Linked DNA regions of Homo sapiens: regions 1 and 3 are each linked to region 2. The links are contacts of gene promoters, found by promoter capture Hi-C in blood cells and fetal thymus (Javierre and others, 2016). All regions are on one chromosome and are shown on one strand. The core of a region is centred on a gene start or on the middle of the fragment in contact, and the rest is flanking DNA. Distances in the headings are between cores, read along the strand shown.

Evidence for each region. Contacts are between HindIII fragments. The CHiCAGO score rates a contact against its expected background, and 5 or more counts as called.
Region 1: the fragment with the promoter of HNRNPL here is called in contact with the fragment with the promoter of RASGRP4 in region 2 in 1 of 17 cell types (neutrophils); the score reaches 8.5 in neutrophils.
Region 3: a contact is called between a fragment that was not itself captured here and the fragment with the promoter of RASGRP4 in region 2, in 1 of 17 cell types (neutrophils). The highest score is 5.6, in neutrophils.

The regions. Positions count from the first base shown.
Region 1 is chr19:38,848,557-38,851,284 of GRCh38, forward strand. HNRNPL (heterogeneous nuclear ribonucleoprotein L) reads right to left here and starts at 1,430. Exons shown (of 13, transcript NM_001533.3): 1 at 1,144-1,430. The coding sequence starts at 1,410. RefSeq lists enhancers at 1-629, 468-557, 630-1,567, 1,718-1,807, 2,138-2,207 and silencers at 758-1,297, 1,308-1,567. The HindIII fragment of the contact is 20,955 bases long and covers 1-2,728 here.
Region 2 is chr19:38,424,844-38,427,613 of GRCh38, forward strand. RASGRP4 (RAS guanyl releasing protein 4) reads right to left here and starts at 1,376. Exons shown (of 17, transcript NM_170604.3): 1 at 1,226-1,376. The coding sequence starts at 1,248. RefSeq lists a silencer at 1,252-1,311 and an enhancer at 2,204-2,718. The HindIII fragment of the contact is 20,985 bases long and covers 1-2,770 here.
Region 3 is chr19:38,798,025-38,800,799 of GRCh38, forward strand. No RefSeq gene overlaps it. Among named protein-coding and RNA genes, the nearest start is that of LGALS7B, 10 kb to the left of the region's middle. The HindIII fragment of the contact is 582 bases long and covers 1,221-1,802 here.

The sequences.
Region 1 (2,728 bases), core at 180-2,679, 420 kb after region 2:
GAGAATCACTGGGCAGAAGTGCGTGGAAGGTGGGTAGAATTGGATTCTATTTCAGGAGCGATCCACGCGAACCACAGGGTGAGGCACTCCCGCCAGGTTAGCAGCTCCCACAAATGGGAGTTCTAACTCCAGCCCTGCCCCTCACTAGCTGTGCCACCTACAGTAATTCACCTCATCTCATCTCTCTCCTGGCCCATTTCCTCCTTTGTAAATCGGGAATCCCAGTATCTCCCCCAACCTCAGGAAGCGTTAAGGATTTTCAATTAAGATGTCTTTAAAATGTGTGGGACAAGGCCAAGATTAAAACGCTAGCAACTCGTAACCCCTAAACCCTGGAAAACCCTGCAAATAGGCGGCCCTGTAAGACTTCAAGATTTTGGAAAGAGTGGGGACTGGGCCCCACTCCAAAAGCAACGACTGGTGTTTTCGGAGGGACTGATTACAGGGGGTCGAAATGCTTCCAACATGGCCAGGAAATAGTTTGGTTTATCAAATCCTCGGTACCCAGTGAATCCCCGGAAACTGTAAGCAAACTTGTGATGGTTTCAAGGCTTCGCTCAACTCCTAAAAGGCTAAAAGTGCATTTCACAAGTCCTCTTCCCATTTTCAATGCCTACAAAAATGAGAGCATCTAGGCTCAAACACATCCATTTCTGTATAGACACAAGGCTGGGCCTTAGAGATTAAGCTGCCATCAGACGGAATTCCCCACTCTAGAGAACAAGGCCGCCGCCCACCCGTTCCCGCTCACCAGGCGCTCCCCTAACCGCCCACGAGGCCGGGCGGGAACACTGCGCCTGCGCATGGAGCCAGCGAAGAAAATGATAAAGGGGAAAAAAACCGGCCGGGCCGCGTGCCCGGCCCCCACACGCCAGCCCGCGGCGCCTGCGCACTGGGCCATTCGCCTCACGAGCTACTTCCTCTGCGCTCCCCCACACCCCGCTCCGGACCCCGCGCACGCGCAGGCGCCTGTCCTCGCGCAAACCCCGCCGTTTGCCCAACGGCCGCCCCTCCCCCACACCGTCAACGACGCGATGGCCTGGGCGCGTGCGCAGAGGCCCCCCTCAAAAAATAAAATGCCCTCAAGCTGGGAAATTGTCCCCCAGTTCCCGGCCTTCCCAGCGCCTAGGGCCCTGGCCTCACCCCACCGCCGCCGCCGCCCGCCGCCCCGGCTCCTCCACCGCCACCGCCGCCGCCTCCGTGCTGGTCGCCGGCGTTGTCAGTCTTGAGCCGCTTAGGGGCCCGGCCGCCCTCACTGCCGCCGCCGTAGTAGCGGCCACCGCCGCCTCCGCCGCCCGCCGCCGCCATCTTCACCATCGCTCCCGACCGCCTCCGCTGCTCGTCCGGCTGCTGCCTCTGCTCCAGCCGCCGACGCCGCTTCTCCGCCCGGGGCAGCAGCCTCCGCGACATGGCGGCGCAGAACCCGCCTCCCCCCGCCTCTCATTGGGGGAGGGACACGCCCGTCACCCGCCGCCCCCACCCGATAGGGGGAGCCACTGGTCCCGCCGCGGGGGGAGGGTAGGCCGCCACACGCCTTGCGCGCTTATTGGACATTGCCCACGCCGTTCTGCAGGAGGGCCCGCCCTTGTTTGTCTGAGACACTCCTTATAGGTGGTCGCTTTCTGCCAGTCTTTCCGTCGACCCCGCCGCCTTAAAATAAAATCCAATTTGATAGGTCGGATTTCTGGCGCTGCTGGCCTCCCTAAAAGCACCTGATAGGAACGGCGCTCTAAACCTCCCAAGAATCTCCGCCTCCCTCCCACTTTCATTGGTCTCCTCGCTAATCCGTCAGCACCAGTCACAATGACGACCTTCCCGCGCCACTTCGCAAGGAGACAAGGAAGCCCCGCCCTTTTTTGGTCTCTCTCCAGTGGTGGTTACAGATGCCCATTCTTCTGCGTCTCCACTGATTGGTCAATGGAGAGTGGAGCGCACCCTCTCACCAGATGGTAGGACTGTTGATACGCTCTGATTGGATGAAATGGGGAGCCCCGCCCCAGGGTAGGCGCTCTTTGGTGCAGTATACGAAACGAGCGAAGGCGAGAACGCATGCGCAAATACGCTTTCAGGCACCGCCCAGAGGCGGGGCCCCCTTATGGAGCGACCGCTGTGTGTGCGCCGGAAGGCTAGACCAAGATTGACAGGAACTCCCAGGGTATCTCTGTCGCCATCACTATACCGTGTTCATTTCTACCTCTAGGAGGAATTGTTAAAATCCCAAATCTGAGCCTTTTCCTCAGTAGAAAACCACTCGCTGCTGCCGACTGTCTTCGGACCCTGTCCAGTTCTAAATTCAGCCGCAACCCCTTTCAGTTTCCCTTGGGAGAAGGCTCTTCCGCGCACTCTCCATGTGTGCCCATGCAGTCCCTTCCACCTGCAATAGTCCACTACCCCTCCTGCAGGAGCTAAGGGCCAAGTCATCTTGTCCGTGCGATCTAAATTAACAGGTCCCTGCCATCCCAGACCCCCAGGATTCCCTTCAAAGCCATAACTCGGGCCAGTGGTTTTCACCTGACAGCTCGACCCCTCTGAGCACCACAGGAGGTCCTGGCCCCGACCCTGGAGAGGGTGGCCACCTACCAAGCGCCCAGTACAGCACCTGGCACAGTGCAAGCCCCCTGCACAGGGGAGGCGTTCTTGTGATCTGTGCCTGCGTCGGGCCTTTCTTCCTCAAGGGCGGGGTAAGACCACCCGCACTGCACCAAGAGAATGTCGGAGGGTATCTCCA
Region 2 (2,770 bases), core at 126-2,625:
ACTGGATATCAATACAGATTCTCAGGTCCCAACCCAGACCTACAAAATCAAACACTTTAAGGCTAAGGGTGGTGGCTCATGCCTCTAATCCCAGCACTTTGGGAGGCCGAGGTGGGTGGATCACGAGGTCAAGAGATCGAGACCATCCTGCCCAACATGGTGAAACCCCATCTCTACTAAAAATACAAAAAAGTAGCTGGGTGTGGTGGTGCACACCTGTAGTCCCAGCTACTTGGGAGGCTGAGGCAGGATGATCGCTTGAACCCGGGAGGCAGAGGTTGCAGTGAGCCAAGATTGTGCCACTGCACTCCAGCCTGGCGGCAGAGCGAGACTCCGTCTCAAAAAAAAAAAACAAAAAAAAAAAAACCAAACACTTTAAAGGTAAGCCCAGCAACCTGTATTTTACAAGCCCTCCAGACAGTTCTGAGGCTCGCTCCAGTTTGAGAACCACTGGTCTAGAGTGTCTCATTGAGTACTTACAGGCCTCTCCGAGGTAGAGGATATGATTGTTCTACTGACAGAAGAAAAACCCGAGACACAGAGCAGTTAAGTGACTTACCTAAGGTCACACAGCTAGGAAATTAGGCAGCCAGGAGTCTACCACTAAACTGCTGGGTGGGGAGGAAAGCCCTTTGCCCATCAGAGTGGTGCTGGGGGTGGCAGGAGGAGTTACCCAGGCTAGGGAGCCACCCACCATCTGCCTCTGTGGGGACAGAAGGGCCAGCTTGCCCAGGAGATGAAGCCCATTCCAGAACCGGCCGCACAGCCAGCCACTAGGCCCTGTCCTGCAGCCCCCTGTAGGGGTCTGGAACAGCCAGGAGTGGTTTAAGAGGCAGGGGAGTCGCCTTGCCCTGTGCCACACTCCCCTCTCCTGGGCCAGGCCCTGCAGGAGCCTGGAGTTTCCAGTCCACGGGGATGGGGAACCAGGAAGCCCCCAGGGAGGGCAGAGACACTCAGCCCAGGCCAGGGATGGAGGTGGGGTGATGAGGAGTGGAAAAGGGGCACGGAGCAGCTCAAACTCCAGGGACAACACGGTACAGATGCCACATACAAGCGACTGCAGCCGTAGCTGGCTCCAGACTCCCTGAAGCATCCACCTGGCCCCCCTGCGCCTGATCCCAAAGAAGTCAGGAATCCTGCCACCCTGGCGAGTGATCTCCCCAGCCCTCCCATGCAGAGGGAGGCCTCAGGGTGCTGCCGGGCTCCCTGGGGAGGGTCCTCTCACCTCTTACTGTCTTTTCTGTTCATGCTTCCCGCGTGGGGTGAGGAGGCCGGGGGTCTTGCAAGAGTAGGGCTCAGCTCCTCCCCTTGCCCAGGACTCCAGCTTCTCAGCCCCTAGGGAGCTGGGGCCTCCTCGGTGCTTGGGAAGGAAAGAGGAACTGCCCCTCCCCACCCACCCTCAGGCCAGGGGGAAGGAAGAGGCTGGGGAGAGACCGAAGGCCCCCCTCCCCCACACGGGGATCCCTTCTGCTGAGGTTTCCGGCATCGCTGGCTCTCCCACCCTCAAGCTCCCCGGCGGGCTCTCTATCTCCCCCATCTTTCGGTGTCGAGACCCGTCACTGTCATACTTCAATAAAAGAAGGGGCTTTTCTTTTTAAAGCATGACTGATATTTATGTAAAAACACACACACTCACTCAAAAAGATAAGTCTGTCTGTCTAGAAGGACATATTCATATATATAATTCATGAAGGTTTGAATGGAAACTCACAAGACATAGTATTTTGTATATTTCTTCATAGGCGTCTCTTATTCCTAGTTTAAGTGATACCATTTGTACCCTGGAAAACATTTTCACTTTCTGACTTTATTGTAACAAACCTCCACATAGCACCTACTGTGTACCACACACTGCTGTAAGGACTTTAAAAATATTAACTCATTTAATCCTCACACAATCCACTGTTACCTTAAAAAAAATTACATACCGGACCAGGCACGGGGGCTCACAGGGGCTCACGCCTGTCATCCAGCACTTTGGGAGGCCAAGGCAGGCGGATCGCTTGAGTCTAAGAGTTTGAGACCAGCTTGAACAACGTGACAAAACCCCGTCTCTACAAAAAATGTAAAACGTTAGGCCGGTGTGGTGGCTCACTCCTGCAATCCCAGCACTTTGGGAGGCCGAGGTGGGCGGATCACCTGAGGTTGGGAGTTTAAGACCAGCCTGAGCAACATGGAGAAACCCCGTCTCTACTAAAAATACAAAATTAGCCAGGCGTTGTGGCACATGCCTGTAATCCCAGCTACTCGGCAGGCTGAGGCAGGAGAATTGCTTGAACCCAGGAGGCGGAGGTTGCCGTGAGCCGAGATCGCGCCATTGCACTCCAGCCTGGGCAACAGGAGCGAAACTCTGTCTCAAAAAAAAAAAGTTAGCTGAGCGTAGTGATGCACACTTGTAGTCCCAGCTACTCAGGAGGCTGAGGCTAGAAGATTGCTTGAGCCCAAGGAGGTCGAGGCTGCAGTGAACCATGATGGTGCCACTGCACTTCAGTCTGCGTGGCAGAGCCAGACCCTGTCTCAAAAAACAAAAAACAAAAAAAAAAAACACACACACACATCAAAAAACATTAGAGATGGAGGTAAAGCCTTGGGGAAGCCCCTCCCCATCCCCTGCCTTTCTTAAGCAGGGTGTGACCAATATGACACGTTGTCGAGTTTCGTCCAAACTGCTGTCTGTGCGTTTAAGCACATCATATAAACATGTGCTCCTAGAAACAGACTTTTCTTTTGAGTGTGCATTTTTTTCTTTTTACCTAAATGTGTCATGCTC
Region 3 (2,775 bases), core at 262-2,761, 370 kb after region 2:
GGCTGCCGGGCGGAGACGCTCCTCACTTCCCAGACAGGGTGGCAGCCGGGCGGAGGGGCTCCTCACTTCTCAGATGGGGCGGTTGCCAGGCGGAGGGTCTCCTCCCTTCTCAGACGGGGCGGCCGGGCAGAGACGCTCCTCACCTCCCAGACGGGGCGGCGGGGCAGAGGCGCTCCCCACATCTCAGACGATGGGCGGCCGGGCAGAGACGCTCCTCACTTCCTAGATGGGATGGTGGCCGGGAAGAGGTGCTCCTCACTTCCTAGGTGAGATGGCGGCCGGGCAGAGACGCTCCTCACTTTCCAGACTGGGCAGCCAGGCAGAGGGACTCCTCACGTCCCAGATGATGGGCGGCCAGGCAGAGACGCACCTCACTTCCCAGACGGGGTAGCGGCCGGGCAGAGGCTGCACTCTTGGCACTTTGGGAGGCCAAGGCAGGCGGCTGGGAGGTGGAGGTTGTAGCTGAGATCACGCCACTGCACTCCAGCCTGGGCACCATTGAGCACTGAGTTAACGAGACTCCGTCTGCAATCCCGGCACCTCGGGAGGCCGAGGCTGGCGGATCACTCGCGGTTAGGAGCTGGAGACCAGCCCGGCCAACACAGCGAAACCCCGTCTCCACCAAAAAAATACGAAAACCAGTCAGGCGTGGCGGCGCGCGCCTGCAATCGCAGGCACTCGGCAGGCTGAGGCAGGAGAATCAGGCAGGGAGGTTGCAGTGAGCCGAGATGGCAGCAGCACAGTCCAGAGGGAGACCGTGGAAAGAGGAGAGGGAGAGGGGGAGGGGGAGGGGGAGGGAGCTATTTTGTATTTTTTTAGAAACAGAGTTTTGCTCTGTTGTCCAGACTAGAGTGCAGTGGCCTGATTATGGTTCACGGCAGCGTTGAACTCCTGGGCACAAGCCAACCTCCTGCCTCAGCCTCCCTAGCAGCTGGAACTACAGATGTTTGCTACATCTGGCTTACTTTTTTATTTTTTGTAGAGACAGGGTCTCGCCATGTTGCCCAGGCTGGTCTTGAACTCCTGGGCTCAAGCAATCTTCCCACCTCGTCTCCCAAAGTGCTGGGATTACAGGCTCATGCCATCGCACCCAGCCATCATTTTATTTACTTATCCATTCGAAGTAAATTGTAAACATCAGTATTTGTCACCCCTAAACATTTCAGAAGTACATCATTAGCTAGAGTACAATATTTGTTTATGATTCTTTCCTTGTGGTAAGCTTTGCGGAAAGATTCTTTGTTTATATTGGTGAAATGCACAAATCTAAAATGTACAGTTGGCTGGGCACAGCGACTCACGCCGGTAATCCCGACACTTTGGGCGGCTAGGGCAGGAGCATTGCTTGAGCCCAGGGAGTCGAGATCAGCCTGAGCAACATAAGGAGACCCCCGTCTTTATAAATATATATATTTTTAATTAGCTGGGCATGGTGGTGCACACCTGTGGTCCCAGCTACCTGGGAGGCTGGAGTGGGAGGATCACTTGAGTCCCAGAGGTTGAGCCTGCAATGAGCTGTGATCACACCACTGCACTCCAGCCTGGGCAATAGAGTGAGATCCTGTCTCAATAAAAACAAAAATAAAAAGAATTTAATAAAATAAAATATACAGCCAATGAGTTCTAACAAATGCACAGAGCTGTGTGACCTAGGGTATGGAACATATCCATCACTCCAGAAAGTTGCTTTAGACATGCAAACATTTAAACTTAGTTTGAGTCATGCTAATAACCGGTTTTACAGCATTTTATCCAATTAATAATATAGAGGGTTTAATTCGTCACTTCATGGTTTGTCCTGAAGCTTGCTAACCCATTACATCAGAAAGCCAACCCAGCTAATTTGAAAGTGGATGAGTCAGTGACTGGTGAATAAGTAAACACGAGAGTGAATAAAGAATAGATGGATGAATGAAAATGTAAAGAAATCAGCTGGGGGCAGTGGCTCACGCCTGTAATCCCAGCACTTTGGGAGGCCAAGGTGGGTGTATCACGAGTCAAGAGATTGAGACCATCCTGGCCAACATGGTGAAACCCTGTTTCTACTAAAAATACAAAAATTAGCTGGGCATGGTGGCGCATGCCTGTAGCCCCAGCTACTCAGGAGGCTGAAGCAGGAGAATCACTTGAACCCATGAGGCGGAGGTTGCAGTGAGCTGAGATGGCACCACTGCACTCCAGCCTGGCGACAGAGCAAGACTCCGTCTCAAAAAAAGAAAGAAAAAAAAGAAAGAAATCAATGAATGGGCCAGGCACGGTGGCCCACGCCTGTAATCCCAGCACTTTGGGAGGCGGAGGCAGGCGCACCACCTGAGGTCAGGAGTTCAAGACCAGCCTGGCCAACATGGCAAAACCCTGTCTCTACTAAAAATACAAAAATTAGCTGGGCGTGGTGGTGGGTGCCTGTAATTCCAGCTACTCAGGAGGCTGAGGCAGGAGAATTGCTTGAACGGGAGATGGCAGTTGCAGTGACCTGAGACAGCACCATTGCACTCCAGCCTGGATGACAAGAGCAAAACTCTGTCTCAAAAAAAAAATAAATAAAAATAAAAACAAGAAATCAATGAATGATGAAATCAGCAAAAGAGTGATTTGATGAAAGCATGGTTGGGTGGACAGATGGAGAGAAGAAAATATAAATGAATGGATAACTTTCCAGCTTGAGTTGGAAAAGGGTTGGAAAAAAATAGATAATGAAGAGATGAATGGATAATTGGATAGAAAGAGATGGAAAAGTGATGAATTGCTGAATGGAGGGATGAATGGGCATATGGA